7 separate regions of the Homo sapiens genome follow, and regions 1, 2, 4, 5, 6 and 7 are each linked to region 3. Evidence: promoter capture Hi-C in 16 types of primary human blood cells and fetal thymus (Javierre and others, 2016). All regions are on one chromosome and are shown on one strand. The core of a region is centred on a gene start or on the middle of the fragment in contact, and the rest is flanking DNA. Distances in the headings are between cores, read along the strand shown.

Region 1 (3,052 bases), core at 523-3,022, 370 kb after region 3:
AATTATATATAATCAGCCTCTGGGGGAAGGGGCTGGTGCTCGGGTGCGCTGAGCTGCTGGTTCTTTGAGCTGCAGCTCCCAGACATATGTCCTGGCGACTGCCATGCTGTCTGCATATTGTTTCAGGAGGTCACTTGATTCCTTCCACCGTGGCCACTCTTTTGCTTTCTTTCTACTTCTCTATTTGAGCACGGCCTGAAGACAGCACAGGCAAAGTAAAAGACAAAGCTCAAAGCTGTCCCGGATATTATCTGGGGCAATGTTCATATATTCACCTTAGTGAAATCAAGTTAAAACTAGGAGCATCGAAAGCACCCGTGATGGAAGAAAGGCAGTGAGTCAGCTAAACTCTTGAGCAGTTTATGACCATCCCAAGTCTTGGCAAAGATCTCCCTGACTGAGGAGTCTGATAGTGGGAGTGAGGAAAAGCAGGACAGAGGCAGAACAGTATGTGTGGCTGGTAAATTGATGTCAGCCGCTGGCCTGTTGTGTTTAGGCGTGACACTAGGTTGAGGTTATGAGAAACTCTTTGTTTTGAAGACTGTGTTTTCTCTGAGATTTCTACGCTTGATCTCAGCCAAAAGGCCGAGCAGCGATTTCTTTAAACTAAGATGAGTTTAGGCATCAGAACTAAACATCTAATTGAGAAGATTGTTAAAACTGAAGTCATAGTAAGATGAGATTCCTTATCCTGCCTTGATGGAAGAGAACATTGTTGTTGTCAATTTAAGATAGACTTTTCAAGGTTTCCTATTATGATATCTTGGTAATGCAGCTTTTTTTGCTTATTAAATACTATAATGGTGGTTGTAAATATTTAAATTAGTGGTATAGTTTGCCTTAATTTCTTTGAGAAAAATAATTCAAAAAGTAAATTGAAGTTGGAAAAGAATAAGAATTTTTAGCTAAGAAGTCAGTGATCATTGATGATAACAGTTTTAGTTGACCAGGTTATAGACATTTAATATGAGCCATGTTTTACTTATATCTCTTGGAAGTCATTTACTATAGGCATCTGATTATGAGGTTCCTAAATATAAGGTACAGTACTCCTTCATTTTCCCACTCCTAACATTTCAGGAAGGAGTGTATTCACACTCCTCACATGCACTCAGACATAAGTGACTTTGTTGTTGGAATATTAACTCACTTTTTGAGTCACATTAGTTTTCGAGTCCATATATCATCTTTATTTCTTTCTATGTTTGAGATATACTTTTTGAATCTGTTTATAGTCTAGTCACTGGAAATTCTATGCCAAGTCCCAGTTACCTCTCATAGAGCATTAGGGTGGTTGGTTTTATTTGCCCAGTGGTTGTGTATTTGTCATCTCCATTATAATAACCACTTGACTATTGCTTTTTAAAATGCTCACTTAAGGGATTGTTTCTTAATAGTCAGCAATTAGAACTTTTTAGGTTCTATCCTCAGAATAACTACTTAATCTATGTTAAACTTCTTTTTTTCTTAATTGTTAGGTAATCTTTTCATCATCGATTGGTTGAGGTGATTTTATTCCAATGTGTCTTCCACAAATAGGACTGTGTTTCAAGATAAAGTCCTGCATTTGAGAGATGTCCTGTAATTTGACAGACATTGTAAAGACTAGGTATAAAGTGACCCCTCATTTTGGGGGGATGGTTTTTGGGTAAAAGGAGTTTTTATCCCCAGTTTCTTGAGTTTGAATTTTCTGCATATGTTTTAAATAATTTAGTTGAACTCTTAATTTGGACAAAGAAATTCAGAAAAGGAAACATTCTACTTATAATTGTATCATAATATATAATATGATAACATTACTTGGCCCAGAAAGGTGTGTGTATGTTGTTGAGTTGGGAATGGTTTATTTCTATCCTTTTTGGTGGCTCTGGCAGTTGGCTATAGGGATTGTTCTATTTAACATTGAGTTCATGCTATTGATTTTTTTCCTCCTCTTTTTAGTAGAACATACTACTTTGGAAAATGTCAGCCTTTTAATTTTTCATCTTAGTTTAGGGCTAAAGATATTTAAAATCATATTTGTAAAATATAATATTAGCACTGAGATTAATAAAGATTGTTGATATAGTAAATTTAAAGCACTTAGTTTTAAATGTCAGTAACAAATAGAACTGAATAAATCAAAGTCTTCAGAATTTTTATGAAGTATACTCTCCCCCTCCTTTCTAAATAAAATTGACGTCAAATAAAACTGGATGACTGTGTACATGGAGGGTATTCATCCATCCTTTCATTCATCATGCATGGATAGATGCAGCTGCCTCTGCTGTCCCTTCCACCCCCACTGCCCCGTCAATCTACCCAACACAGTGCAGGACTGATTGGTCCCCCTTTTGAACTACTCCTTCAACTTACATTTCATTTCATTTGTTTATTATGGCATAGACCCCCATCAATATTATGACAATTTATGTACAGGTTGGCTCACTGAGTGCAGGGAGTTTCTTGCTTATCTTTGGCTGCCATGTTTAGCTCAGGCATACCACTTAGTCTGCACTCAGGACAGGTTGTGGGCTCAGTGCTTAAGTGCTGCGTTTTCCCTCACCTCAAGAAGTTCATAGGTTGATGGAGGAGGAGGGCATGTGCAATTAATTCCAGTAAAATTGAATATGTATTAATGGGGATGTGCCCAAAGAACTCTGAGAACACAGAGGAGGAAGTGATGCTGAGGCATGTAGGTGATGGAGTGGCCCTGAAACATTTGAAGCATGGGGGCACTTACTGGCAATAAAATCTGGAGTATATCGAGGCACTTTATAACAAGGTTCCTGTGCATTCAGAATACCCTGGTTAGAAGTTCAGTAGAGTTAATTCATGTACCTCACTTCTACCTGTTAAATGCAAAAACCACTGCTAGAAATTTTCTTTAAAGGTATAGGAGTTGATAGAAATGATAAATGAACATAGCTTTTTTTTTGGCAGTGAAGAAAATATTTCAAATTATCCTTTAGGAACTTTTTTCAGGTATGGTTCATTAGAGTAGGACTCTGTTGGGATTATATGGTTTCTTATGCCATATAGGTGCTGTCTTTTGCTTTGGCCAATTCCCTAG
Region 2 (3,141 bases), core at 396-2,895, 510 kb after region 3:
CTCCCTTTGGGAACCACCCTGAACTGACTTCCTTCCCTTCCCTGAATCTCTTTGCCTCTTTTCTACTGGTGCTTCCTAGAATCACCACCAAAAAAAAAAAAAAAAAAAAAAAATCCTTGTCTCAAGCTCTGTTTCTGAGGTAACCCAACCTCAGTTTCTATATGTAAAATATTTCAATTTAACCTGAACAAATACGTTAAACATGAAGAAATGTACAAATACAACTTCTAAATCAGGTTACAAGGGAAAAAAACCCATAAAATGGAAATAAAAATGATGAGCACACATTGTGCTTGCTATATGCCAAGTATTATTCCAAGAGCTGCACATATAACTCATTTGAATCCCACAAAAAACCTGTGAAGTAGAGTCCAGAGACTTTAAGGAGCTTGCCTAGATTCACACAGTTTACACAGCTGGTAAAAGATGGAGCCTGGACTCAAACTCAGTCTTGCTCCTTTGTCTGTGCTGTTTGTTAACCATGATACTATCATAGAGATGTTTTAAAAAGGTGATTTATTAGTAATGACATGATATCATGAAAGTATTATGCCCAGTTATGTTGTTTATATGAATAGTGCAGAAAACGAATAACATTTGTTGTCATTATAATCTCAAAGAAGACAGGATCCTCATATAAACAGGAGCAGTTATGAGATAAACACATTTTTAAAAAATCCCTTTAAATGGATGTCAGTTCATGAAAGTGATTTGTCATTAATGTCCAACAGTGAATGACTATGAACAGCAGCTTTTGAGATTGGCAGTAACACAGCTTTTAGGAAAACAGAGGGCAGGCATAGTTTAAAGCTAACATCAGCATGTGTAATGAGGTATCATCCTATTCCCTATGTGGCTTGGGCACTAACTTGCAGCTGAAGAATAGAGATCTGTTTGGGCTTGCAGCCCTGGCTAAATGGCCCTGCTGGTTCCACCCCCCAGGTCTGATGGTCAAGAATTATTGGATACTTCATGTAAAGCACTCAGCCAGGCACTTTGAGATAGATGAAGAAGACTAAGAGGCAGTGTATACTCTCTAGGACCTTAAAACCTAGTGAGGAAGAAAAGCACATGAGGATAACTTGGACTTTTTTTCTTCTATGAGAAAAACATCTGGTAAGGTTATTCAGACCACTCAGCTTCATATGGATTTATAGATGTTGGTGCAATTTTTACTCCTTGGCTTCAGCTATTGAAGCTGTGGCAGCAGGTGTGATTACCTCAGAAGAGCGAAGGTGCAAAACAAACTCTTGAGGTCTTGGGAGCTCTGCAGGTGGTTTCCTTGCAGTTCTTCAAATAAAAGGAAGTCTAAGAGCTTCCTGACTCTGTGATAGAGAATGCTACCATGCAAGGCCATCACTTGAAGCCTTTGCTCTTTGCAGAGGCAGAAGCGTCCCTGAGTGCATTGAGACGCTGGGCTGAAGAGAGGAATGACATCAGCACCAGGTGGGGGAGAAGAGCGATTTCCTTTTTTCTCAGGGTGACCCACAGGAAGGACATGGGAAGTTAGGTCAGAATTGGCTTGACACCTCTGTCCTGGGAAATCCTATCAGGTGACTAAGAAGAAAACAACCCACCAAGTTACTGCTCTTTGCCGAGAGATGGAAGGCACCTTGGGGGAAACCCCTGACCACAGGCCAATAGAACAGAATGTTGTTAGTCTTGCTGAAAAAGCCAACCAGAAAAATACTTCTTCAAATTCACCTGGGGTGACAAGAAATATTTCCCATTCTTGGGTTCTTTCACTTTCCTAATGGAAGCATAGATTGAACACTTTGTGAAATGTCATTTAGATTTTCCCTCTTGTGATTGGCTTTATTTTTCTTTTTAGGAAAAAAAAGACAGAGTGCAGGGCATACTTTTTTTGTGGTTGATAGGATTCCTAATGCAACCATAAATATGACCAGCATATAAGTCATGATCTATGATTCTAATTAGCAAATGATGTTTCTAATTTTCAAATAGGACAAGTTATATATCATTAAGTTTTGGGATGCCTAATCTTTTTTATTCCATCAATTTTTATTTTAAGTTCTGGGGTACACGCACAGGATGTACAGGTTTGTTACATAGGTAAATGTGTGCTATGCTGATTTGCTGCACAGATCAACCCATCACCTAGATATTAAGCCCAGCATCCATTTGCTATTCTTCCTGATGCTCTTCCTCACCCCACTTCCCCAACAGGCCTCAGTGCGTATTGTTCCCCCCATGTGTCCATGTGATCTCATCGTTCAGCTTCCACTTGTGAGTGAGAACATGTGGTGTTTGGTTTTCTGCTCCTGTGTTAGTTTGCTGAGGATAACAGCTTACAGTTCCATCCATGTTCTTGCAAAGGACATGATCTCATTCCTTTTTATGGCTGCATAGTATTCCATGGTGTATATTTATACCACATTTTCTTTATCCAGTCTATCATTGATGGGCATGTGGGTTGATTCCATGTCTTTGTTATTTTGAATAGTGCTACAATGAACATATGTGTGCATGTGTTTTTATAATAGAACGATTTATATTCCTTTGGGTATACACCCAATAATGGGATTGCTGGTTCAAATGGTATTTCTGTTTCTAAATCTTTGAGGAATTGCTACACTGTCTTCCACAATGGTTGAACTAATTTACATTCCCACTAACCATCTAAAAGCATTCCTTTTTCTCTGCAACCTCACCAGCATCATTTTTTCTTGACTTTTTAATAATCACCATTCTGACCGGTATGAGATGGTATCTGATTATTATTTTGATTTACGTTTCTCTAATGACCAGTAATGTTGAGCTTTTTTCATGTTTGTTGGCTGCATGCATGTCTTCTTTTGAGAAGTGTCTGTTCATATCCTTTGCCTACTTTTTAATGGGGTTGAGTTTTTTTTTAATGTAAATTTGTTTAACTTCTTTGTAGACTCTGGATATCAGACCTTTATCAGATGGCTAGATTGCAAAAATTTTCTCTCATTCTATAGGATGTCTGTTCACTCTGATGATAGTTTCTTTTGCTGTGCAGAAGCTCTTTATTTTAATTAGATCCCATTTGTCAATTTTTGCTTATGTTGCAATTGCTTTTGGTGTTTTTGTCATAAAATCTTTGTCCATGCCTATCTTCTGAATGGCATTGCCTGGATTTTCTTCTAGGGTTTTTAT
Region 3 (3,090 bases), core at 540-3,039:
TTACCTGCACAAAGACTTCTCTGACTTTCTAGTACTCACTATGTTATTTTCTCCTAAGGAATTATTTCAACACTTGGAATCTATATTATAACACTGTTTTAGATAATTGCTTCATGAAAGTGAATCTTATTTCCCTTGTTGGATTGAGGAGTTACCTAACTGCAGGAATTCTCTCTTAAAAGATTTTCTGCAGTCTCCAAAATGCTTTAAACCATGGGTACTATTAAAAAACAAACAAACAACAACAACAACAAACAGAGCTTGCAACAACAACAACAAACAGAGCTTGTGAGATAGAAGGGTAAGTAAAAGAATTGTGGTAAATTGGAGCAAAATGACCCTTCAAGTTATTTCAACCCAGGAGGTCTCCTGTCCCATCACAACACTCCCTGTCAGTTTCACTCAAAGGTCTAGAAACTAAATTGTGCGGACTAAAAGGCCTGTGTTTAAGACAAGAATCTAATATGCTTTTCCTCCACTTAAAACCTTCAGATATTCCTTCAGCAGGAAAGTATGGGAAACAACCACATAGAAACAATTTTAAACGTTTAACAATTAAAATTAAAAACAAAAAAAAAAACCTTCAGATAGCTCTCTGGTCTATAGAAGTAAAAATTTCCTAAAATGATATTTACAATGTGACCCCAGTTTAGGGGTTCAGTCTTCTATTCAGCCACAAACATCACTTTAAACGTATACTGCATGTGACCACTGAGCTACACGTACTTTTTTTTCATATCCTAGCACCTCTGAATATGCTTCTTTTACAAAGACCTACATTTGCCCCCTTGAGCACCTGGTCAACAACTACTTACTCCTCAAAGAGCCTCAGGTAGGCTGGAGACACACAGATGCAGGTTGGCAATTTGGTTCTTGTATTTATTAGCTTCCGAACTTTCAGCAAGTTCCTTAACCTCTTTTAGTCTCAGTGTTATATATGAAAAAAGGATAACAGTACCCATCTCATAGGATTTTTCTTGTTCTGAAGATTAAATAAGCTAATAATATATATTCAACGCCTTTAGAACAATGGCAGTCACATAGTAGGTACTCAATGTTTGGAGTACGAATAATGTACTCTTATTATTCAAAGACCAGCTAGAAAGTTACCTTCTTTGAGGGGTCTTCCTGATAGTTACAGTGACAAGGAGACTTAATCGCCCCCAAACACTTACCACTTTACACTGCTTGGTTGTCTCCATTACACAACTAATTCCCCGAGGGGAAGGATCTTGAATAACTGATCTTTGTTGTAGGCGGCTAGCACAGTACCCAGATCATAGAGGGAACTCAGAATCTGATGCTGGCACTTGTAATCAGAAAGTCTGGGCTGAGATCCCAGTATCTTCACTGACTGGCTTTGTGATCTCAGGCTGGTCACTTAGCATTTCGAACGCCGCGCTACCTACCCCGCCCACCCCAGGAGCGAACAGTGTTGCTGCCCCAAAGCGCCGAATAGATCGCAGAACGTAGTGGGAAAGTAAGGGACTATTATGATCTGTACCCCACCCCGACGCACGCCAAGCGGCTTTTTCCCCATTTGTGGCCAAATTTCCCGGCATGGGGAAGGAGCCTTAGGGGAAGCACCCGGGACCTCCTTGGCTTCTTCTGGGAGTCTAGTTTCACCTATTTCGTTTCGCCAACAGGCGAGACGGGCAAGACTTCGGGCTCAGCTGCCACCATCAGTACTGACCTGTCCATGGCTAAAGCCTTTTCCACACACAACCAAAGTTGGCTGCAGTTTAGCTACCGCGTTTTAGCCTTCCCGCTCTCCGGAAGCAAGCCCTTCGACCCGGAAGCAGTCTGTCCCTAAAACAGACCCACAGAAAAGGGGTAGGGGAGAAGAAACAACGTTCCCATCTAGCGCATGCGCGACTTCAGCCTACAGGTGCACGCCCGGTGGGCGCAGGCGCAAAAGTTTGCCAATGTGTTCCTGGTTGCGTTTAGCCCAGACGCCCTGCGGCCGCTTTGCCTGACCAAAGTCTGTGGGCGTGGAACAGGCCCTGGGTTCTCCTACTGGGAAGAATGAAGTATGTTGATAGTCTGGAAAAATGTGAAGTCATTTCCTGGTATTCTCTGTCAGAAAGCGCCTGTTCTTGGAATTCAGATGCGTGGGCTCTGCCCCACACCTCGGGGATCTCTATCTCTCTGCCTACACTCAGTCCTTTGTTCTGTAGCCCCCTGCAGTTTTTGCAACTATTTTCCATAACTGCTATTTGTTCTTTACTTGGTGTTCTTTCCTATTAAGGAGAAAAAGTTCACCTGTATTAAAAAGTAGAAAGGCAAGCGTGAAATATGATGGTATTGCCCTCTATTTCAAAGTGCCGTCTAGGCAAAAAGTGGTGTATTTTGGTCTTGAAGGAGTCAGTCACATTTTTGTTTTGGTTTTTGTTTTTTCCAGTTTGAAAGTAGTGACTGGCTATTAACTGACCAGATTACAAAAATAATGTTAGATGCTTCAGTTTATCCGTTTAATAAGCCTGTTGATATAGTCTTTTCTGTTGCTGGCATTTATACCTTTTATTAATACAAAATAGGTAGTCCTTCATTCTCCCTCGTGGAGAAGATAATTTGAAGGATCACAGGAACTTGAGTTTTTCAACAGCATAGATCTCATGAATCAGATTCTCCAGTCAGATGATGCCATATTTATCAGGAAATCTAGCAATCAAAGCGTTATCTGTTAAGGTAATTTGTTTATTGATTTTGCCATAACCAATTTGTAGATCAGTTCATTTACTGATTTCAGGTTCAGGTACTCCATGTGATATATGGTTCCACAATCCTCAGCGTGTTAACTGAAGCCTTGTTGAGTTTAACAAAGCTGCCATTGAAGATCTGGGGAAAGTGAAGAAGTTGCAACAGAGTTTTGGGCTCACACCATTGATACATTTGATCCTTAAGGCAAGTGACAATTTGGGTTTCACAGGTATATAGAAATTGCCAGCTTTTCTTGCCATATATTTCTTGTGACAGTGCTGAGCTTTTTTTTTTTACTTCTTGCTTGCTTTTTTTTGGACTTGATTTTTTAAATTATGTTTCCTTCCTTCCTTCTTTCTTTGTTTTTTTTTTTTTTGAGACAGGATCTTG
Region 4 (3,182 bases), core at 119-2,618, 470 kb after region 3:
CAGATATTGCTTCATGTATTTTGAATTTCTGTTATTAGGTACAGAAATGTTTATGATTGTTATATTCTCTTGATGAATTGACACATTTATCATTATAAAATTACCCTTATTGTCCCTAATAATATTCTTTGTCCTGAAATCCACTTCTTTTTTGATGCTAATAGAATCACTCCAGCTTTCTTTTGATTGATGTTAGTGTGCTATGTCTTTTTCCATCCTTTTACTCATAACATATTCGTGCCTTTTATTTTTCTCATTATTACTTGTTTTAAGCAATTTGATTATGATGTGAATTGATGTAGTTTTCTTCAGGCTTCTTGTGCTTGGAGTTGATTGGGAATCTTGTATTTGTGAGTATATAGTTTTCATCAAATTTGAAATTGTTCAGCATTATTTATTCAAAAACTTTTTTCTGTATCTCCTTCTGTCTCTTCTCCTCTTGGAATGCTAATTACACATATATTAGCCCATTTGTAGTTGTCCCACAGCTCACTGATTCTGTGGGTTGTTTTTTCCCAGTCTTTTCTGTGTTTCATTGTGAATAGTTTCTATTGCTACATCTTCAAGATCACTAATCGTTTCTTTTGTAGTGCCTATCTGTTAGTCCCATTCAGAATATTTTTCACCTCATACATTGTAGTTTTTATCTCTAGAAGTTTGAATTGAGTCTTTTTAATATTTTCCATTGCTCTATTGAACATGATCAGTCTTTCTCTAACTTCTAGAACATATGGAATAGAGTTATAGCAACTTTTAAAATATCCTTATTGATTAATTGTAACATTTGTGTCCACTCTGGGTTGGTTTCAATTGATTGATTTTTTTCCCTCGTTATGGGTCATATTTTACAGCATCTTTGCACGGCTGGTAATTTTGATCAAATGTCAAATATTATGAATTTTACCTTGTTGGATCCTAGACATTTTTATATTTCTGTAAATATTCTTGAGTTTTCTTCTGGGACACAGTTAAATTAGTTGCAAACAGTTTGATCTTTTCAGATCTTGTTGTTTAAGCTTTGTTAGGCAGGACCAAAGTATTGTTTAGTCTAGTGCTGTTTTTGCCACTCATTGAAGCAACACATTTCTGTAAACTCTACCATATTTCCTATGATTTTGCTTTCCTTTCTTCTTTTCCTTCTCTTCCTCCTTTTTGAAATGTATTTGTTCAGGACATTCGGCCATTTGTCTCACAGAGTTTCTCATAGTCTGTATTTTCTGACTGCATTTTCATAGTGTCATTTAATATATTCTCCTCTTTATTTACCATACATTAACAATTATACAGAGAGACTTGATCAGATTTAGCTTGATGTTTTAGCTAGAACACTTTATAGGTAGCATTGTTTGCTTTCACTGGGTCACATGATGTATGATCTTTATTTTTACGATGATAACAACCCCTGACAATTATTGTCTAGATCCGTTAATTCATAAGGCACTACAAAATAATAATTTTTAAATTCTATTTTATCTTCTTTACTCATAAGCTGGGATAATTCAATAAATAGAATCTACTCCTATTTGGATGTTCTGAGGAACTTATCATATAAGAAAGCCAGGTTAAATACTTAATTATCTTCCTTTATTTGCTAGCTTTCAACATAAGTGGTTGGTTTTCTGATTTTCTCCCATAATGACCAATGAATTATTAATTTTGTTGTCATTTTCTCTGTTTCATTATTAACTCATGAAATTATTTCTTATTTTTGTGAAGCTTATCTGATTTCTCTAAGGTACCTGCCTTTTGGGCTTCCTTGCAAGTCCGTTTTCTTGAGCCACTCTTAAGATAAAACAGCATGACAAATTATCATGATAGACTCCAAGGACTGGAATTCCCAGTACCACTGTATTTGGACATCCTCTCATTGCTTCTGGTGACATTCTAAGCATTTTGCAGCACCTAATAAAATATATTTTCCAATTAGTTTGATTTGGGTAAGTCAGATAGTATAATTGTTCAAAAAATAAGTTATGTGTAATGTAAACTTCTTTATGTTTATACTCTTTCCTAGCCATAATATTTGGAAAATTGTTTATGTAAGAAGACATTTTAGAGATTCTTACAGAACTCAAATACTCTCAGACTTGAAAGAGAATTTAGCAGTCACCTTATTGGATTCATAAAATAATTTACCTAATTGCTAGTGATCAAAATAGAAATGAAAATAATTTCTGTTAGTTTTTAAGATTTCATCGTCTACTTTAATTAACATTTTGAGAGCCTGAACAGTAATTGGTATTTAGAGAGACACATTTCTTCATGTCGGTTGCATGTAATTAATTTTAAAGTCTGGCAAAAATTGGCAAACAGAATATTGTGTTTCCATTTTTTGTAGACTGTTTAATAAGTAACTTGTATCATCAATTGCAAATAGCTTATCAACTTGTAAAATAATACCATTCATTCATCCCTGTAATTTAAAATTGTAAAAATTGCAACTGGTTGAACTGATAAAGCAAGAGTGAGACCAATCCTGTCTTATTCTTTTATCAGCTGCAAAGTCTAAAACCTGTGTCTTCAATAACAGTAGCCTCATCTTAAGGTCGTTGGGAGAATTAAGTACCTAGCATGTAGTAGTTCTGCAGAATTGTTAGTGCTTCCTTTATTGCTTTTCATGCACAGAACATTAATTTTTATTCCAATTACATTTTCTCAACAATTTACGAAGGAGTGGTTCTCTTAAGTAATCAGATACTTTTTTAGTGCTTAAAATTAGTATTATATTGTATAATGTGTATAATTTATAGTAGTAGCTTATTTATTTTTTTATGAGACGGAGTCTTGCTGTGTTGTCAGGCTGGAGTGCAGTGGTGCAATCTTGGCTCACTGCAACCTCCACCTCCTGGGTTCAAGCGATTCCCCTGCCTCAGCCTCCTGTGTAGTTGGGACTACAGGCGTGTGCCAGCATGCCTGGCTAATTTTTTGTATTTTAGTAGAGATGGGGTTTCACCATGTTGGCCAGGATGGTCTCGATCTTCTGACCTTGTGATCCATCCACCTCAGCCTCCCAAAGTGCTGGGATTACAGGCGTGAGCCACCACGCCTGGCCAGCAGTAGTTTAATTTAAAGATAAATAGGCTGAGCATGGTGGCTCATGCCTGTAATCCCAGCACTTTGGGAGGCTGAGGTGGGCAGATCACTTGAGGCCAGAAGTTTGAGACCAGCCTGGCCAACATAGT
Region 5 (3,117 bases), core at 29-2,528, 440 kb after region 3:
CCCCTAAACCACAACATTGATGTGCTAAGATACTAGGTATTTGTTTAACTGTTTTTCTCATACTCTTTGCAGCCCTTCTTCTTTTCTAAGTTTACTATATATTGTCATTTTCCTTAAATATGGCTCTGTTTTGTTGGTGTCTATCATGGCTAACTATTGCCTCAATGGCTGCAACCAGGCACCTGCTCTACCCAGTAATATCTCAGGTTACTAACATACCACATCGTACTAACTGCTGGATATGCCCACATAGGCAGGCAGTCGAGAATAACATTACATTCCTAGCCATCCCACTCTCTAGAGAAGAAATGGCTACCATGCAAGCCCAATACTTGATACTCTGGATTTGACTACACTATGTACACGTACACCAAAAACACAGGTATAGGGGGGGCACCTAGGCCAATTGATCTCTCATGGCAATCATCCACTGTAACCCAGTGAATAGGGAAGGCACCAGAAATGGCCTGTAAAGTGAGACTTCAGAAACTCAGAAGGGCCTGGCCCTTTCCTAGGGGCTTTAACACAAGCCCATTGTAATTACACCTTCAACTATAAAGAGACACACCAGGAATGGGAGCTGTATGATGACTGATGAGTTCACCGAGGACCTCCACAGGTTTTCTCTATGGTGGGAAAACAACAAAGTTAATGCCAGCAAAATTTAAAATGATTCCTTTATGCCTGTAAATAGTTTAGCAACTGGGATGGAATATATAGGAATAGGGGTTGAAACTGGACAACTTCTTAACCTCACTAATACAGCTTTTCCTCGATTTTCCTTTAACCAATTAATATTTAGAACTCTTATCTGTCAGGCCCCATATTTACACAACACAACAAGTGAAACTTTGACTCCCTTATGTGTGGATAACTACTTTTTCGGTCATTGCCCGTTCACATTTAATCCCCGGGGACCATGAAATCCCCTTATTTATGCAAATTATACTGGAATCCAAACTGATCACGCCTATGCCTGGTTACAAAGTCCCTCCTTGGGAGTTTCATTAAAAGGAATTGGGTTCTTCTTTTTATGGGTATCCATCATGTTTCTAGCCTTGCCTATTAAGTGGATGGGCACCTGTACTACAGCTGCAGCCATACCTGGAGCGCATATATATAACTCCTCGAACTTCATAACCTCTGGCCAAGTTCCAAATTTGGTGTTCTTCCTAAGTGGAGCCCTCTAAAGATCATCAGAAGAAAGAAAACAAAAGTGGAACTTAACCTCCCACCATTTGGCATCCTTGCCACTGATAATCCCATTATGGAGAGAAATGGTCTAGAATATTCTATAGTCAGTGGACTCTTGGTTTGCAGGTATACCCATGCTCAAGCACAGCATTTGTAATCTCACTGATATGGTTTGGCTATGTCCCCACCAAAATCTCATCTTGAATTCCCACATGTTGTGGGAGGGACCCAGTGGGAGGTAATTGAATCATGGGTGCTGTTCTCTTGATAGTAGAATAAGTCTCACAAGATCTGATGGTTTTAAAAAGGGGAGTTTCCCTGCAAAAGCTCTCTTCTCTTGTCTGCTGCCATGTGAGGTGTGCCTTTCACTTTCTGCCATGGTTATAAGGCCTCCACAGCCACATGGAACTGTGAGTCCAATAAACCTCTTTCTTTTGTTAATTGCCCAGTCTGAGGTATCTCTTTATCAGAAGCAGGAAAACAGACTAATACACTCACCATCTTAGTCCAGCAATCTTGGAAACCTAAAGTCACAGCCATTGAGGCCCAGAAACAGGCCCTAATTTCATTGTCAGGGGTTGTCCTGCAGAATCAACATGCTTTAGATGTGCTTACCACCAAGGCAGGAGGCACTTGTGTGCTGTTAAGTGAAACCTGCTGCTTTTACATCAATACTTCAGGTCAAATAGAAGAAAGTTTAAAAAAGGTAAAAGAGAATATCAAGGTATCAGAGGGCCTTCAAAAAAGAGTTCGTCAAGATTTTTTTTTTGGCACAACTATTCAAAATTTCTCCAGCTGGGTTTGGCCATGGGTTGCCCAACTTCTCCCCCCTATAATAATGTTCATATTAGTTTGTTTACTTGCACCACATATTTTTACTGCAATATCTCATGTTGCGTCTTCTAGAATACAATAATCTCAAACCAAAATGTTACTGCAGCGAGGGATATCAGCTTCTAAAAGAACTCCATGACTCTCCTTTGGATGCAGCAGAACAAAATTTTAGGCTGCAAATGCGGTTCCCCCATAGTCTCACAGCAACCCGGCTCAATTTAAGTCCTAACTTAGGGATTTAGACCCATGGAACCTCCTAACTGAGCAGCAATCCTAGGTAGGGCCAACTCTTCACTTCTGGTCAGCAGGAAGCAGTTGGAAGATGAGACCTTCACTCACATGCCAAAGATTTGTCATTCTTGCTCTGTTAGGGGGGGAATGTGAAGTCCTAATTAAGGAAAAGGAGTTAGGCTGGTGGGACTGAGGGAAAGCAAAAAAAGCAAGTAGATAAGCTATAAAGTCTGCTTTTCTTCATGGTCCAGGACATATAGCCCTCCTGTGCCCAGCTTACCACCAGACACCGGCGAGTTAGCTCCCTGCAGCCTTGGCGTTATCAGTACTGCAGGCAGCACTCTTCGGCCCACGTTCCAGTCTACAAAATCCCCAGCAAGCCTTTGTTTCCCGGCAGTTAGCCCGTCTTTTACTAACTTGCCCATTGCACTCTTGCAACATATTATCATACTTTCTCTAATAAATCTGCCTTTCTTTACCTACAACTGTCTTGGTAAGTTCTTTTACCACCTGTACCATGGGCCTCAGATAGTTGCTGCTCACCCATGGCAGGTTCCAAATGCTGAGAGGCACTGATGTTCCCTTTCAGGGATGATAGAATTATAATATTTTTTTTTCTGTGATTAGCTGAGGTTAAGGAGTCTTTCCTTTTCCAAATGAGTCTCCATGTAATGACTAGAGCAAAAGTTGATATCATATTTTTTTTGGCCAGTCTTCTGGAAACTGAGCTATAAGTGGAAGAATATTTACCCCTAAAATTGGAAGGTAAGAAACTGAGAGACTTTATATTCTGATATATTTCAGAAGTAGCTAGAGTCAACCTTGGTTTTTCCTTCCCTAACCCTGCACATTGAATGT
Region 6 (3,467 bases), core at 114-2,613, 390 kb after region 3:
TAGGACCCCAATGCCTTCTGCCTTGTAAGGTTTCTGCTGGGAAGTCTGTTGTTAGTCTAGTTGTTTTTCTTTTGTAAGTTACCTGATGCTTTTTGCCTCACAACTGTTAGAATTCTTTCCTTCATGTTGACTTTAGATAACCTGATGACTATGTGCCTTGGTGATGATCTTTTTGCAATGAAGTTCCTAAGAGTTCATTGAGCTTCTTGTATTTGGATATTTAAATCTCTAGCAAGGCCAGGGAAGTTTTCCTCAATTATTCCCTCAAAGGAATTTTCCAAACTTTTAGCCTTTTCTTCTCCCTCAGTATCACCATTTATTCTTACATTTGGTTGTTTACATAATCCTATATTTCTTGGAGACTTTGTTCATTTCATTTGATTCTTTTTTCTTTATTTTTGTTTGATTGGGTTAATTCGAAAGCCTTGTCTTTGAGCTCTGAAATTCTTTTTTCTGCTTTTTCCTCCCTCTTGGACCTGGCATGCAGCTATCTTCTACTTGTTCTAGTCTATTTTTGAAACTTTCCACTACGTTTTGTATTTCTCTAAGTGTGTTTTTTATTTCCAGATGTTCTGATTGCATTTTCTTTATGATATCTATCTCTCTGGGAAATTTTTCATTCATATCCTGAATTTTTTTTTAATTTCTTTATGTTGGTTTTCACCTTTCTCTGGTAGCTCCTTGAGTAGCTTAATCATCAACCTTCTGAATTTGTTATCTGGTATTTCAAAGATTTCATCTTGGTTTGGATCAGTTACTGGAGAGTGAGTGTGATCTTTTGAGGGTGTTATAGAACCTTGTTTTGTCATATTACTAGAATTACTTTCTGGTTCCTTCTTTTTTGGGTAGACTATTCTAATTGTTCTCAAATTTATTTTTGATTTGACTATGTGTGTTTTTTTTAAAATTTTTTTCCCCTCTTAAGAATGTGACCTTAATGATTATAATTTGTTATAGTTTAATTTGGTTCTTGGTGCTTTTAGGGGTGAAGAGTCTTTATAAGTTCTTTGGTTATAGAGAGTCTTTGTATGATGGCTTCCTCAGTTGCTGGTTGTAGTAGCTGTGTACTCAGTGTGTCGGCAAGTTCGCTGTCTCCTGTGGGGTTGGAATGGCAGAGGTCTCTTGAAGCTTATCTCATTCCCCTGTGGTGTGTACTTTTTCATTTATTTAATTTTTCTCCAGTATTTTGTTTACTGAGTTGATAGTTCAGGCTTCAGGCCATTAGGGGAGGTATCCCTGGGTAGGAACTTACTGTGGCTAAGGTAGGTGGGTGAATGCAATACCCACTGGTGGGCACAGGTCCCAGCCTTGATGAAGGTGGCTGGGGGAGCTCTCAGTTAAATGCAGTGAGGTCTTATCAGGGTGAAGGGTGAGAATGCTATCCAAGTAGATAGGAATTGTGACTCTGCCTCTCATGCAAGCCTGCATCTGGGGAGTGCTCCTCCTGTGGGGAAGCAGTCACCCTAAAGTGTTCCAGGAAGGCTGTCTATAGGCACACTCATACCGAGTCCTGTGGGAGAAGTCCCAGCTGTGTCTGCAGTGGTGGACAAGGGGAAATAAGACCCCTTCTCCAAGACCCTTCATGAGCACTAAGCTTGCCTGACTGTTGGGGTGATGGGGTAGACTCCCTGCTGAGCCTAGCACTGCAATTGTGTCTCTGCTGAAAGAAACTTCCCACCAGTGGAAAGATCTGGGACTCCTGAGATTCCTTGGTTGTAGATAGGCTTAGGGTGCTGGCTTTCTTGCGTGTTGGTTATGATAGTTGTGAACTTGTCACGTAGACAGATTCAGGACCACTGGTCAGCTAGGGTGTTGCAGGCAGTGGTGATAGCTGAGGTCAGGCACTGGTTTTCTGGGCACAGCGTTATTCTACCTAGAGATGATATAATGGACTGTGTCAGTTGGCCTCTAATCAGGAGGTGCTGCTTGCAAAAGAGCACCAGCTGCAGTAGTAGCAGTGGTAATTGAGCTTTCCCTGTGTTGCCCAGGGGAGGTATTCTGGCTTCTCACACCTGGGCAGGGTTATAAAACTCCCAAAAGTTTATGTCGTTTTTGTTAAGCTGTGGAGGGGCACAGCCAGGCAGGGGCTGGGTTAGGTGGGTCTGCTCTTTGACTCTCCACATGCCGTCTGTTAGTTTTTTAAAAAGATTTTTGCTCTTTTTAATTTCTAAGAATTTTTGAACATTGCATATTGCTTTTATACAGCATCCCATTCTTATTTCATGAATGGAATGTTTTATCTCTTTGAAGAGGAAAATGATACATATAATGCCTCTGTTTTGAATACATTACCCCTGCCCACAGTTGAACCTGGTATCCTTCAGTCAAAGTATCTCTGGTAAACTTTTAGAGACGAAACTTCCATGCCTCTTTGGGAAAGAGGGAACTACCCAGCTGTGCAAATTTAAAGGAGGACCTGGCATATTAACTATTTTTGTAAAAACATATTTAGGCAGCTTCCTGGTTCAGTCTTCCCTTCACTCCAACTTTCAGTGGTACTCAGTATGCCCAAACCCAGAGCCATCAGGGGAACAAGTTGGTTGTTTCTTGGTTTCACTCTTCTGCTGGCTTAAACTTCCACTTACTTGGGTATAGTTATACACTCACTGCTCTTCCATTTGCTTTCCATGTTCCAAAAAGTTTCTTGCTGTCTTATTTGCTCCCATTCTCTTTGTCCTATGAGTTTGTTCTTCTTGTAAATGCGTGTATTTAATTTACCATCTCTAATCAGAAGCCTACTACATTTCTTTAAAGTTAGAATAGATCAATATTATCATTGGAAAGAATATTAGGAAGTTATCCATAGTTTGTTTACATGCTTGCTAAGTGCATTATAAATTATGAATGGCCCTTTTATGGTAATTTCTATTAAGATATAAAATTAATTAATAAAATCTTTTTCATTTCTTAAACCTTTACTCACATGTAGGTTTGATAATTAATAAAATTTCTGACAGCCTACTTTTACTAACAGTTTAGTATATAATTGAGATAAGCTGTTCAGTGGCTTTTGAAGGATAATTTATTCTGCCTTTTTTTTTTTAAGTGGGAAAAGCAAGGATGAACAATTTGCAGTTACCTCAACATGAAGCCTTTAATGATGAAGGTATTTCAGTAGTCACATAACATAAAAGTTTGAGTTCTAGTCTATGAGAGTATAATGGCTTTACATTTGATTAGCACTTTATAGCTTATGAAGTACTTCCACAGATTTTTCATTAGATCCTTGAAACCCTGTGAGGGGGAGTGAAATTACCCCCATTTACAAATGAGTAAGCTGGGAGTAAAGTGGTAAAAAACTGTTCTAGGGCAAACATACAATAAGAGATTGTGCCTGACATCACAGCTGAGGTCAGTGTTCTTTTTCTTTTTCCACCTTGTCTAGCTGGGGGCTCAGGAATTTGGCCTAGTGTTACATCCATCTTTTAAAAAAATGCCTATATATTTTTGTCAATTTTCCATGGTCA
Region 7 (3,464 bases), core at 205-2,704, 400 kb after region 3:
TGTCAGTATAAGAATGGTGTCACAGTGGACCCACATATTTATTTTTATTTATAAAAAAACCTTAGTCTAAATTGCATATTACTTTGCTTTTACTAAGCAATTAGAGCTTGGTAAAAATAATTGCACTAGATAGTTAATGCAGCTGTATTTTGGGTATGCCTAGGAGAGCTCAGTTGGCTGTCCCACGGAGCCTGAGGCTGGGGCACCACCAGGCACCTGGTGGCAGCTACATAAATGTCAAAAGTGGTAACCTATGACCGGATGCGGTGGCTCATGTCTGTAATTCCAGCACTTTGGGAGGCCAAGGCGGAAGGACTGCTTGAAGCCCAGGAGTTCAAGACCAGCCTGGGCAACATTTGGAGACCCGCATCTCTACAAATAATGAAAAAAATTGCTGTGCATGGTGGCATGTACTTGTAGTTCTGACTACTCTACCAGGGAGGCTGAGGTGGGAGGATCACTTGAGCCCAGGAGGTCAAGGCTACAGTGAGCTGTGATGGCGCTCCACTGCACTCTAGCCTGGGCAACAGAGCGAGATCCTGACTAGAAAACAAAAAAAAAGTGGTGACCTAGATGAAAATACCCAGTCTAAGGGGCTAGTCCTTAAAAGTGCAACCTTAAGACATCACACATGAAATTAAGTTGTACTGAGAAAAGTTGCACTTGCTTCTTTGAGACAGCAGGTTTAAATTAAATGAACATTAAATTCAATTATTAAATTGAACCATAAGAAATTGCTATTTTTGGCTGGGTGCAGTGGCTCACGCCTGTAATCCCAGTACTTTGGGAGGCCAAGGTGGGCGGACGCTTGAGGCCAGGAGTTCGAGAACAGCCTGGCCAACATGGTGAAACCCCATCTCTACTAAAAATACAAAAATTAGCTGGATGTGATGGCGCATGCCTGTAATCCCAGCTACTCAGGAGGCTGAGGCACAAGAATCGTTTGAAACCAGGAGGCAGAAGTTGCAGTGAGCCAAGATCAAGCCACTGTACTCCAGCCTGGGTGACAGAGCAAGACTCTGTCTCAAAAAAAAAAGAAAGAAAGAAATTGCTAGTTTTTTGCAGGTAAAAAGTGGTAAAATATCAGCAATTGAGGTGGCTCAAGCTATTGATTAAGTTAAAATTTCAATTCCAGGCTGATTTTTCTTCTTCCCTAAAGAAGGACTGGATAATAATTATAGTAATAGGAGGAGGATTCTTTGTTATCATAGTCCTTACACTTACTGAGCTCATGAGGATCCCACTTCTAGTCTGTTTATATACATTAACTCACTTAGGACCACAATAACCATAAGAAATAAGGACAATTATTATTTGTATTTGACAGATTTATCAGGTTACATGTGGCAGCTTTATTAAATAATATCTGTAGTTTTGGGTGCTTATATTAAGTGTTGTACTAAGTGGCCTTCACAAATAATCTCTTTACCTCTGAGATTCACAAATGACCTCATTACTTCCCATTACTATGATTTTCCTTATCCTTCAGAGGAGGACCCTGAGGTGAGAGGTTCAGAAATTTTCTGAGTTTCACAAAATTAGTAGGGGGCAGAGGAAAAATTTAAAATGAGATTGGTCTACTTCTGGGCCTCAGTGTGTAACTATGAAGTGACTCTGTTTCAGTCTATGCTTTTCTTTCCATCTGGCCTTTCCAAGTCATAGCAGCCTCCCCCATCTTCTTTGATAATTTAGCGAGTTTCACTAAGTACTTGATAACTATCCTTGCATGCACACTGGTTTCATATGTGGCTGATTTTTGAGAATGTGGCATTGCCAAGGTGCTTGTGAAACTAGGCCAATCAAATGTATTGATTCCAATAAAGTTCTTATTAAATTGATTCCTCCTTATATAATTGTGAAATGGCCATAGAAACACCACTAGAGTTAAGCATGCGCAATTTCCTTAAATGGGATTCTCAGATAAGCATCAGCCTCTTAGAGCTTATGATATCTGAGAAAATAACAGCTAAACTCCCCTGCACTGATGTGGCAGTGAAATGATTTCTCTGGTAGTGGCTCATTTCTTAGTTACCAAGTAAAGTATTTACGGAATCTTCCCTTAGGTACAGATATTACGGTTAACATGAACAATGAGATGAGAAAATTGAGGAACCAAGGTGATTACAAAACAGCTAAAGCCAAACTGGCTGTTTGGCACCCACATTGAAAAGATTTTCTGAAGTCTAATGATTTAACTGGTTGTAAAAGATGTGCTGAGTTCAATCAAAGATGTCCAAACTTAGTTTAGATTTTCTTTCACACGGGATTAAATTGCTCTAAGTGGCCTGTTTCCTGCTGTGCGGGGTCCCCCTCCAGGTTTGCATATGAAGAGTAGGTTCTCTTGGGAGACTAGCCTCACTCACATGCACACCTTCACTCACATGGCTCCATCAGGAGCTGTGAAAATGGGGGTTTTACTGTTTAACTTAAAATATGAGTTGAAATGGAAAATAAAATAAAAGGGAGATAGTGCAAGTATCCGATATCCCTCCTTCAAAATGCAACAGGACGCCAAGGCAAGAGGATTGCTCGAGCCCAGGAGTTTGAGACCAGCCTGGGCAACATGGTGAGGCCCCATCTCAAACAAACAAACAAACAAACAAACAAACAACAACAAAACCTTGCAATGATGTGCAGCCTTGATGAGATAGAGAACAGGCTCCCTTTAGTACAGGCCAAATCACATGAATGGTTTCTATTTACTGGGCACTTACTATGTGTCAGACATTGTACCAAATGCCTGAATGAGGATAATCTTATGTACTTTTGCCTATTATTACCTGTATTTTACAGATGAGGAAACTGAGGTTTACAGAAACTGAGTAACTTCGCCAAGTCCATATCCTTCATAAATGGTGTAGTTGGGGCTGCAAGCCATGCCTAACTGGCCTTGGAGACCAGGTATGTTGCTGGTCTTGAGCACCATGGTATATTGCTTCTCATAGAAAATGTAGCCCATACACAGGCAGACTGAATCTGCAAGCTGCAGCCCCTTGACTGTAGAGTCCTGCTTTGTTCAGCTCTCCTGCACAGTATATTCCAGATTCCCCGTCTTGGGTGAGGGATTATAATGGCAGTTTATCTCCAACCACACACCAGTGCTCTCATGTCCTGCCTTCCCTTCAAATATGAAGTCTGCCTGTGATCTCATTCCTGTGTCTGAGCCGATAGAGCTCCTATTCCTGTGTCATTCTGTAAGTAGAGGCTCCTGTCCATCTGTCATGTAATAAACCTTCCTTCAGTGGGAAAAAGAGTGACTCAATAAATGTCCCTAGGAAAGCATAGTTCTGCAAGGCTTGGACAAATCCTTACCTGAGGATGTGATTTACTTGTTACAACGAAAGGAGGAGGCAAAAGCATGGGGTATTTTTTGGTCTTTATATCTTACTCTATGCCAACATTATAGTTCCTTAAAATTTAAATTCATTAATTCAATAAATAATATATACATATATAGTTCAAAA

Evidence for each region. Contacts are between HindIII fragments. The CHiCAGO score rates a contact against its expected background, and 5 or more counts as called.
Region 1: a contact is called between a fragment that was not itself captured here and the fragment with the promoter of NUP107 in region 3, in 14 of 17 cell types (megakaryocytes, monocytes, naive CD8 T cells and 11 more). The highest score is 9.9, in megakaryocytes.
Region 2: a fragment that was not itself captured here is called in contact with the fragment with the promoter of NUP107 in region 3 in 1 of 17 cell types (fetal thymus); the score reaches 5.1 in fetal thymus.
Region 4: a contact is called between a fragment that was not itself captured here and the fragment with the promoter of NUP107 in region 3, in 11 of 17 cell types (total CD4 T cells, megakaryocytes, total B cells and 8 more). The highest score is 8.0, in total CD4 T cells.
Region 5: a contact is called between a fragment that was not itself captured here and the fragment with the promoter of NUP107 in region 3, in 3 of 17 cell types (M1 macrophages, M0 macrophages and monocytes). The highest score is 7.4, in M1 macrophages.
Region 6: a contact is called between a fragment that was not itself captured here and the fragment with the promoter of NUP107 in region 3, in 2 of 17 cell types (M1 macrophages and megakaryocytes). The highest score is 5.9, in M1 macrophages.
Region 7: a contact is called between a fragment that was not itself captured here and the fragment with the promoter of NUP107 in region 3, in 1 of 17 cell types (M1 macrophages). The highest score is 5.1, in M1 macrophages.

What each region holds. Positions count from the first base shown.
Region 1 is chr12:68,317,513-68,320,564 of GRCh38, reverse strand. All of the region lies in intron 7 of MDM1 (Mdm1 nuclear protein), which reads left to right. Among named protein-coding and RNA genes, the nearest start is that of MDM1, 13 kb to the left of the region's middle. The HindIII fragment of the contact is 5,517 bases long and covers 1-3,052 here.
Region 2 is chr12:68,174,163-68,177,303 of GRCh38, reverse strand. No RefSeq gene overlaps it. Among named protein-coding and RNA genes, the nearest start is that of IFNG, 16 kb to the right of the region's middle. RefSeq lists an enhancer at 1,337-1,396. The HindIII fragment of the contact is 8,282 bases long and covers 1-3,141 here.
Region 3 is chr12:68,685,677-68,688,766 of GRCh38, reverse strand. It overlaps NUP107 (nucleoporin 107), which reads right to left and starts at 1,789. Exons shown (of 28, transcript NM_020401.4): 1 at 1,694-1,789. The coding sequence starts at 1,701. It overlaps LOC100507250 (a long non-coding RNA gene), which reads left to right and starts at 1,908. Exons shown (of 3, transcript NR_038930.1): 1 at 1,908-2,030; 2 at 2,750-2,904. It also overlaps the pseudogene RPL7P42. The HindIII fragment of the contact is 6,312 bases long and covers 1-3,090 here.
Region 4 is chr12:68,215,881-68,219,062 of GRCh38, reverse strand. The region is part of intron 3 of IL26 (interleukin 26); the gene reads left to right. Among named protein-coding and RNA genes, the nearest start is that of IL26, 8.3 kb to the left of the region's middle. The HindIII fragment of the contact is 700 bases long and covers 1,019-1,718 here.
Region 5 is chr12:68,241,464-68,244,580 of GRCh38, reverse strand. No RefSeq gene overlaps it. Among named protein-coding and RNA genes, the nearest start is that of IL22, 11 kb to the left of the region's middle. The HindIII fragment of the contact is 5,664 bases long and covers 1-3,117 here.
Region 6 is chr12:68,296,562-68,300,028 of GRCh38, reverse strand. It overlaps MDM1 (Mdm1 nuclear protein), which reads left to right. Exons shown (of 15, transcript NM_001354969.2): 14 at 3,047-3,106. Among named protein-coding and RNA genes, the nearest start is that of MDM1, 34 kb to the left of the region's middle. The HindIII fragment of the contact is 466 bases long and covers 1,131-1,596 here.
Region 7 is chr12:68,280,085-68,283,548 of GRCh38, reverse strand. No RefSeq gene overlaps it. Among named protein-coding and RNA genes, the nearest start is that of IL22, 28 kb to the right of the region's middle. The HindIII fragment of the contact is 8,720 bases long and covers 1-3,464 here.